Regions from separate parts of the Homo sapiens genome. Here region 1 is linked to region 2. Evidence: promoter capture Hi-C in human tissues and cell types (Jung and others, 2019). All regions are on one chromosome and are shown on one strand. Each heading gives the region's core, a stretch centred on a gene start or on the middle of the fragment in contact. The rest is flanking DNA. Distances are from core to core; before and after follow the strand shown.

Region 1 (4,178 bases), core at 1,040-3,539, 850 kb after region 2:
AGAAAAAAGTCTTGAGTAGTAAAATCAGAAATGAAAGATGGTATATCATTACCAATTATAGAGAAATAAAAAGAATTATAAAACTACGAACAAGAGAATGTCAACAATTTTAGGTAACCTATATAAAATGCAAAGGTTCCTAGAAAATTTCAAGCTACCAAAAGTGTTTGAAGATATGAATAACTTGAATAGACCTATAGCAAGTAAAAAGATTTAGCTGGTAATTTTAATGCTTCCAACAAAGAAAAGCTGAGGCCTGATAGCTCTCCTGCAAATTCTAGCAAAATCTTTTAAAAAGTAATTAATTTGAATTCTTCTCAATTCTTCCATAAGGTAGAAGAGGAGGACACATTTTCAAATTCATTCTACCGGGCCAGTATTACTCAGATACCAATGCTAAGCAAAGACATCACCAAAAAAGAAAACTAAAGACCAACACGTGTTATGAATATGGCCCCCAAAATCAAAACACTACTAGAAAATGAAACCAGCAACATATAAAAATAATTCTACACTTTATTCATTCATAATAAAAACTCTCAATGAACAAGAACTAGAACAGAGCATTCTCAAAGGACATTTAAAAACCAATAGCTAACCTCACAGTTAATAGTGAAAACTAAAGCCTTCCTATCTAAGATGGGAATTGAAGCAAGAATGTGCACTTTTATTACTTCTATTGAATAATTTCTAGAGGCTTTAGCCATGTAAATAAGGAAAATGAAATAAAAGACATGCTGAACACAGAAGTAAAACGATCTTTAGTTTTACTAAAGTGCAGACCAGTTGATCGTCTATTGACGACATCCTAAGGAATTTATGAAAGAGCTATTGGAAGTAATAGTGAGTTTAGTAAGGCCCCCTTAGCAGTCATAATACAAAAAAATCAGTTGTATTCCTATATATTAACAACAAACGTTAGCAATAGTAATGAAAATACCATTTCAACAGCCTCGAAAGAAAACTGATATAGTTAGGGATAATCTATCAAATGTATGCAAGATCGATACCCTTAAATCTGCAAAATATTGCTGAGAGAAGTTAAATAACTACCTAAATAAAAATATATAACGTGTTTATAGGCCAGAAGCTTAGGTAATGTTAATGTGTCAATTCTCTCCAAATTGATCTATACCAAGCTTGTACAACCTGTGGTCCGCAGGCCACATGTGACCCAGGAGAGTTTTGAATGTGGCCCAACACAAACTCATAAACTTTCTTAAAATATTATGAGATTTTTTGCAATTTTTTTTAGCTCATCCGCTATTGTTAGTGCTAGCATATTTTACATGTGGCCCAAGACAAGTCTTCTCCCAATGTGGTCCAGGGAAGCCAAAAGATTGGACACTCCTGATCTATACAGTCAATGCAACTCCAATAAAAATCCCAGCAGGATTTCTTTGTAGAAGTTGACAAACTGATTCTATTTTTTTTTTAAATGGGGATACCTAAAAGAGACAAAACGATTTTTAAAAATAACAAAGTTGATAGCTTTCATTACCTGGTTTATCACTTATAATAATTAAGACAGTGTTATTGACAATAAGGTAGGCATATAGGTCAACTGAAAAGAATGTAAAGAAATAGATTCATACATTTATTGTTAACCAATTGTCTTTTTACAGACCCGCCAAGGATGCCATGTGGAACAGATATGAATGATTCAGCCAATCTCTTTCAAATTCTTGATCCACAAAATTGCGAACTAAGTAAATGGTTGTATAAACCATTAAGTTTTAGTGTAGTTTTTACTCAGCAATTGTAAACCAGAATTGATTTTTAAGTTCGTTTTGCTGTGTAATGCAAAAATTACTCTTCTCTGAGATCTCAGGGCCACAGTAAATTCTTGCTGATTCCCAAGTACCTTGGAGTGTGTATATGTGAGCTGTGTGTAAAATTGATAAGGGGCCAAGTTTCCTATCTGGACTTGGTATATTGCAGGACAAAAACTTAGGGGAGGAAGCAGGAGTGTCAACAGAGGCAGCCATGAGAATGAGATGTCCTTAAGAAATCACAGAACTTTTGGAATGAACTTAATTAACTTAATTCAATAAATTGTTATAGAGCTAATGCCCAATGTGCTGGAAGCCAGTACTATGACTTTGGGTTTTGGGTTGTTTTGTTTTGTTGTTGTTTTCATTTTTTTTTTTTTTGAAAAGAAAGTTCTATGTTGCAAGTCAACTCATAAGGAGACACGAGTGTCAAGCTCTAATCTGTCTCCCCATGCTGTTTTTAAGGCAAAAATTTTATTAGAAAAGAATTAGAGGAGCCAGGCACGGTGGCTCACGCCTGTAATCCTAGCGCTTCAGGAGGTTGGGGCAGGCGGATCATGAGGTCAGGAGTTCAAGACCAGCCTGACCAATATGGTGAAACTCCTTCTCTACTAAAAATACAAAAATTAGCTGGGCATGGTGGTACATGCCTGCAGTCCCAGCTACTCAGGAGGCTGAGGCAGAAGAATCGCTTGAACCCAGAAGGTGGAGGTTGCAGTGAACCAAGACTGCGCCAATGCACTCCAGCCTGGGTGACAGAGTGATACTCCATCTCAAAAAAAAAAAAAAAAAAAAAGAAAAGAAAAAAAGACAAGAATTAGAGGATGGATTAGAGGATGGATATTTGGATTAGCACGTGATTGGTGGAAGAAAGGGAGGATGTGGCCAAGTCCTTGGGCATGAGCACTTACCACTTCATGCAAATCCATGGGTCACGTGCACAATCAAGTTTGTTCTATGCAAACTCCAGTCAGCCATCTTAGTCTTCAACTGATTTCAGCCAGTTTTTTCTTGATCTCACAAGTAGAAAAGATATGAACCATTCAGCCAATCCCCTCCAAATTCTTGATCCACAAAATTGTGAACTAAGTAAATGGTTGTTTTAAGCCATTAAGTTTTAATGTAGTTTCAGCATCTTAGCAGGTTGTTTCTTTTCTTCTCTGCTATCTTGTCAACTCAAGAATTTCGGTGAGTTACTGGTTTCTTAGTCTTTGGGAGCATAGTTTGAGTTTCAGCGTCCAGAAAATTGTTTCTTTTCTTATCTGCTACCTTGTAAACCAAACAACTTAGTCATCGGTTCCTTAACTCCTAGGGGGCACGGTTTCAAAATTTTCTCGAAATCTTTGAACAGCCATAGTGGGGGCTGCTGATGTCTATCTTATGATGCTGTCATTGGTCCCCAATACTCCAACATTCACAGAACCCTGCGTCTGTTTCTCCCTAAAAGCTTTTCAGCTTACCCCCACCACTCACCAGCAAAAACTCTCTGTTCTAGGCCATGAGTTCAACTTGGGCATCCTGTGGTGTGTGTTTACTCACACCTGTGACTCTGACTTCACACATGCACTCACCCAGGGGTGGGACTGGTGGTCTACAAACTGTTTTCAGATCATTTCTCTATCCATTGCCCTCTGCAGCCTTTCTGATTAAAACTGTATTATCTTTTCAAGATATCTTTAAACTAAGTATGCTGCTAAGACATAGGAAACATTAAATTTGAGGACTTAGAGTGATCTAGAGAAAATTCAAAAATGGTCACACTTCTCATCATTGCTTGCATTTGCATAGCAATACACAATTTGTGCATCTTTTTGTGTATTCAGCATACTGAGCTGTCAGCAGCTTGGCTGACTGCTGCTCTGATGCCCCAGGATGCTGTGGGTGGTTGTTGTGTCCAGCCTAGTCTAGCGATGTTTCTGAATAATATAGCTCAAACAGCTCATCATGACAAGTGAGCCCTCTGCAATCTGACCCCAGCCTTCCTTTTCAAATCACTCCCATCAGTCTCTCCACCTTCATCAGGTTCTCACATTTTATGCTGTTCTGCCTGGACTAGTAAATAGTCTCCTAATTGATTGAGGAGAGATACAAGTAAGTAGAAGGCTCTGGAGTCTCATTTTGTTTTTTTTCAGTAGCAAGTCTGAGTTAACTCAATGAGAAAACAAGATGCTAACACAGGAATAGAAAACCAAACACAGGATGTTCTCACTCATAAGTGGGAGCTGAACAATGAGAACACATGGACACAGGGAGGGGAACATTACACACCGGGGCCTGTCTGTCGGGGGTGTTGGGAGAAGGGGAGGGAGAGCATTAGGACAAATACCTAATGCATGCTGGGCTTAAAACCTAGATAACGGGTTGATAGGTGCAGCAAACCACCCAGAACTTAAAGTAAAATTTAAA
Region 2 (4,231 bases), core at 928-3,427:
GTGTTTACAGCTATAAGTTTCCTTCTGAGGACTGCTTTTGCTACATCCTATAAGTTTTGATATGTTGTGGACTTTTTTTTACATTTCAAAGTTGTTTTCTACTTTCTCTAGTGACTTTTCTTTTGACACATTGTTGTTGTTGTTGTTGTTTTTTCCTTTGAGATGGAGTCTCTGTTGGCCAGGTTAGAGGGCAGTAGCGTGATCTCGGCTCGCCGTAACTTCTGCTTCCTGGGCTCATGCGATTCTCCTGCCTCAGCCTCCCAAGTAGCTGGGATTACAGGCATGGACTACCACACCCGGCTAATATTTGTATTTTTAGTAGAGACAGGGTTTCACTATGTTGGCCAGTCTGGTCTCGAACTCCTGACCTCAGGCAGTCCACCCACCTCGGCCTCCCAAAATGCTAGGATTACAGGCATGAGCCACCACTCCTGGCCAGACACATTGGTTATTTAGGAATATGTGGTTTCCTTTCTGTCTGTTACTGATTTCTGATTTAATTCCATTGTGGTTTGAATGTATACTTTATGTGATTTCAGTCGGTTTACATTTACTGAGACTTGTTCCATAACCTACCATATGCTTTATCCTAGAGAACATTCCATGTGCAACTATTCTGTTGATGTTGGATAGAGTAGTCCTTCGATGCCTGCTAAGTCTATTTGGCTTATAGTGTTGTTCAAGTCTTCTATTTTCTTGTGGATCTTCTGCCTAAATTTTATTAATTAGTGAAAATGTGGTACCAAAGCTGTCAACTTTTATTGTTAAATTTCCTATTCTGCTGGGCACGGTGGCTCATGCCTGTAATGAGGTCAGGAGTTCAGCCTGGGCAACATGGTGAAACCACGTCTCTACTAAAAATACAAAAATTCGCTGGGCGTGGTGGCACGTGCCTGTAGTCCCAGCTACTCAGGAGGCTGAGGCAGGCGAATCGCTTGAACCCAGGAGGCGGAGGTTGTAGTGAGCCGAGATGGTGCCACTGCACTCCAGCCTGGGCAACAAGAGCAAAATTCTGTCTCAAAAGAAATTATAATAATAAAATAAAATAAAATTTCCTATTCTTCCCTTCAATTCTGTCAGTTTTTGCTTTCTGTAGTTTGGGGTGCTACTGTTAGGTATATATATGGTTATAGGTTTTACATCTTCCCAATGGGTTAATTTTGTGTTACCATGAAAGTCCCTTTTTATTTCCGGTAACATTAAAAAAAAATCTATTTTGTCTGATATAGGCATCACCAACTCCAGTTCTCTTTTGTTTACTGTTTGGTATACCTTTCTTTTGATCCTTTTACTTTCAACCTATTTGGGTCTAGTGGAGAGTTCTTATACTGCCTTAGGTTAGGGATTCATATTACATTATCATCATTAGTACTGTTATTTGACATTTGCTGTGCTGACTAGCTACTGCTGATAGGTTTTCTTTCCTCAACAATTCTGAGGCTCTATATTGAGTTATATTAGTACATCATCATGGAGAGTTAAAGGTAGGTAAGGATTATTTTCTGAACTGCAATATTGATTAAAGCCATGTGAATGTATAAGATTCTTAGAAGAGTTGACATTAAATCAAGGTGAAGCTGAGGTTTGAGCCTTACTTAAAGGCTGATATTTTCCACTCTAACTGCGGACAGTACTGTAGCACTGTTATAGTACCTGCTCTGAATGTTAGTCTAGCAACTCAGGGTCTTCTTCATGACAGCTGAACCTCAACCATGTGATGGTAAATGTGTAGCAGAGTATGCCTGGCATCCCACCTGCTCCTCCTCCCCCTCCTCCTTGACTGGTTCTGGAAAGCAAATAGGGTGTAACAATAGGAGTTCTGGAATGTTCCTGTGTGGGGCTGACCTTTGTATCGCTGTTAATCCTCTATTTTCAGACACAAAAATGATTAAGTTAAAACTGGATGAAAGTCTTTTCTGGGTCACAGGGCTGAGCTGCTTTTGCTCTTTGCAAATACAAAGAATTTAACAGGATTCTCCCCTTCTCAACTTCCTGTCCCCCACCCTGACCTTCGCACCTTCCCAATATGAGGAAAAAGCAGGAAGTTTTCCTTGCGGGTTTTTTTTATGATGACATGATGGGGCCAGTTGATCAATGGGGAAAACCCCATGTGGCAACACGCCTTCTGTGTACATTCCCAATATTTGCTATAAATAGGGCCATCCCAGGCTGCTGTCAGAATATAACAGCACTCCCAAAGAACTGGGTACTCAACACTGAGCAGATCTGTTCTTTGAGCTAAAAACCATGTGCTGTACCAAGAGTTTGCTCCTGGCTGCTTTGATGTCAGTGCTGCTACTCCACCTCTGCGGCGAATCAGAAGGTAAGTGTCGCTCTTTCCGCTAGCACAGAAGAAAGACTATTTTCATTTTCCTTTTAGCCTTGAGCTCAACTGGGGGTCCCTAAGGGATGGAAAACTGTTAGGAAGTATACAAGAGGTAGTGATGGAAGTTGTCTGCCCATGGTGGAGTGGAGGAGAGAAGAGTTACTGCTGCGGATCAGGCTTTCCTCTCTGCTGTCAATCTCAGCAGATTTGGGGAGTGGTGGGCTCTTAGAGATCCCTAAACTTCAGGATAAAGCCAAAGTGATGTTTCTGGGAGTGATATAAAGTGTGTAATGTTACCAGTAGATGGGGCCATTTTGAAATGTAGAGAATCCTCCTGTGTCCCCAACTTTCGTACCTCCCAACTTAATAGTTTTGGTAAAGTTCAAAACTCATCCTTTAGAAGTAGATTATAATACCTGACATCAACATCCCCACAAGGCATGGGGGACATTGCTTGCCAACTTTAAAATAACATTAATCCCTTACCTTACAGCATGTTGTAATCTGACTCGGGAATGTCCAAGTATTGCTTTATTGCTCAATAGTCACACAACACTTTTAGCAACAGGTGCATTCCTAAAAATGCACATTGAATTTTTTTTTTTTTCTGAGGCAGGGTCTAACTTCATCACCCAGGCCAGAGTGCAGTGGCATGATTACAGCTCACTACAGCCTCAACCTCCTGGAGTCAAGTGAACCTCCAGTCTCAGCCTCTTGAATAACAGGGACCACGGCCGTGTGCCACTCACCTGGCTAATTTTTTTACATTTTTTTTTTTTTTGTAGAGACAGGGTTTCACTGTGTTGCCCAGGCTGGTCTCGAACTCCTGGAGGCAAGCAATCCTTCCTCCTTGGCCTCCCAAAGTGCTGGGATTACAGGCATGAGCCACCATGCCCAACCACATGTTGAACTTTTATGAACAAAATTAAACATTCCTATTAATTAATAGGACAATTTCAAAGTGTTTTCACTCCTATAAATCATATTTCCCTTTGTAGCTCTATTTCTCAATACTTAGTAGCCAGATAATAGATTAAAATCTGCCAATTTATTCATTTTCTGCTTTTGGAAGTTTATCTACATAAGGGTTCCTTCAAGCAGTAGGGAAGGGGCTGCTCATATTCTTGAATGATTATAGTGAACTGAAATGAAATATTGTCAATTTGTATTTCTTACTGAAGATATCCCACTTATGAGAAGTCCTGTGTTTCTCAATTCTATTATTGAACCAAAACTTCTCGGCACACAAACTGTTTTTTCAAAGAACTGTAAACTATGTTAGATTGGTTCTCAACGACCTTACAAAGGTTTCCAAGACATTGAAACTCCTCCTCTAAGTGGTTTATTCGTCATATACATGAGATTCACTAGATTTTTCACAACTTAAGGTAGTTTTATAATACCAATCACAGGATAAGTTTATTCATGTGGATCCAATACCTTTCACTTTTTTTTTTTTTTAGCAGCAAGCAACTTTGACTGCTGTCTTGGATACACAGACCGTATTCTTCATCCTAAATTTATTGTGGGCTTCACACGGCAGCTGGCCAATGAAGGCTGTGACATCAATGCTATCATGTAAGTTATTAATTGATTTTAATTCAGTTGTATCAGGAATACCTAGAAACTTCAGTTTTAAAAATGTTTGCCTTTTTAGAGTTTCATTCAGAAATTACTGATGTTTTGAACATAAGATCTTATTTTAAAGAGAAAGAAATGATGTGGCAAAGATAGCTTTGTCTTAGTACATATCTACTTTAAAGTTCACTTTAAACAGGACTGGAATAAGGCAAAACCTTTTTTAAAAATTTTTTTTGGTCAAACGGAACTAGTATAGGGCAAAAATCACTTTCTAAGGCTATTAAAGTGATATATTAGGAAAATAGGGAAGATACACATTTCGAA

The links. The method cuts DNA at HindIII sites, captures the fragments that hold promoters and counts their contacts. A contact is called where the count stands out against the background at its distance.
Region 1: a contact is called between a fragment that was not itself captured here and the fragment with the promoter of CCL20 in region 2, in 1 of the 25 tissues and cell types used here (stomach).

What each region holds. Positions count from the first base shown.
Region 1 is chr2:228,661,770-228,665,947 of GRCh38, forward strand. No RefSeq gene overlaps it. Among named protein-coding and RNA genes, the nearest start is that of LINC01807, 52 kb to the left of the region's middle. The HindIII fragment of the contact is 4,026 bases long and covers 277-4,178 here.
Region 2 is chr2:227,811,665-227,815,895 of GRCh38, forward strand. It overlaps CCL20 (C-C motif chemokine ligand 20), which reads left to right and starts at 2,178. Exons shown (of 4, transcript NM_004591.3): 1 at 2,178-2,323; 2 at 3,790-3,904. The coding sequence starts at 2,248. The HindIII fragment of the contact is 20,627 bases long and covers 1-4,231 here.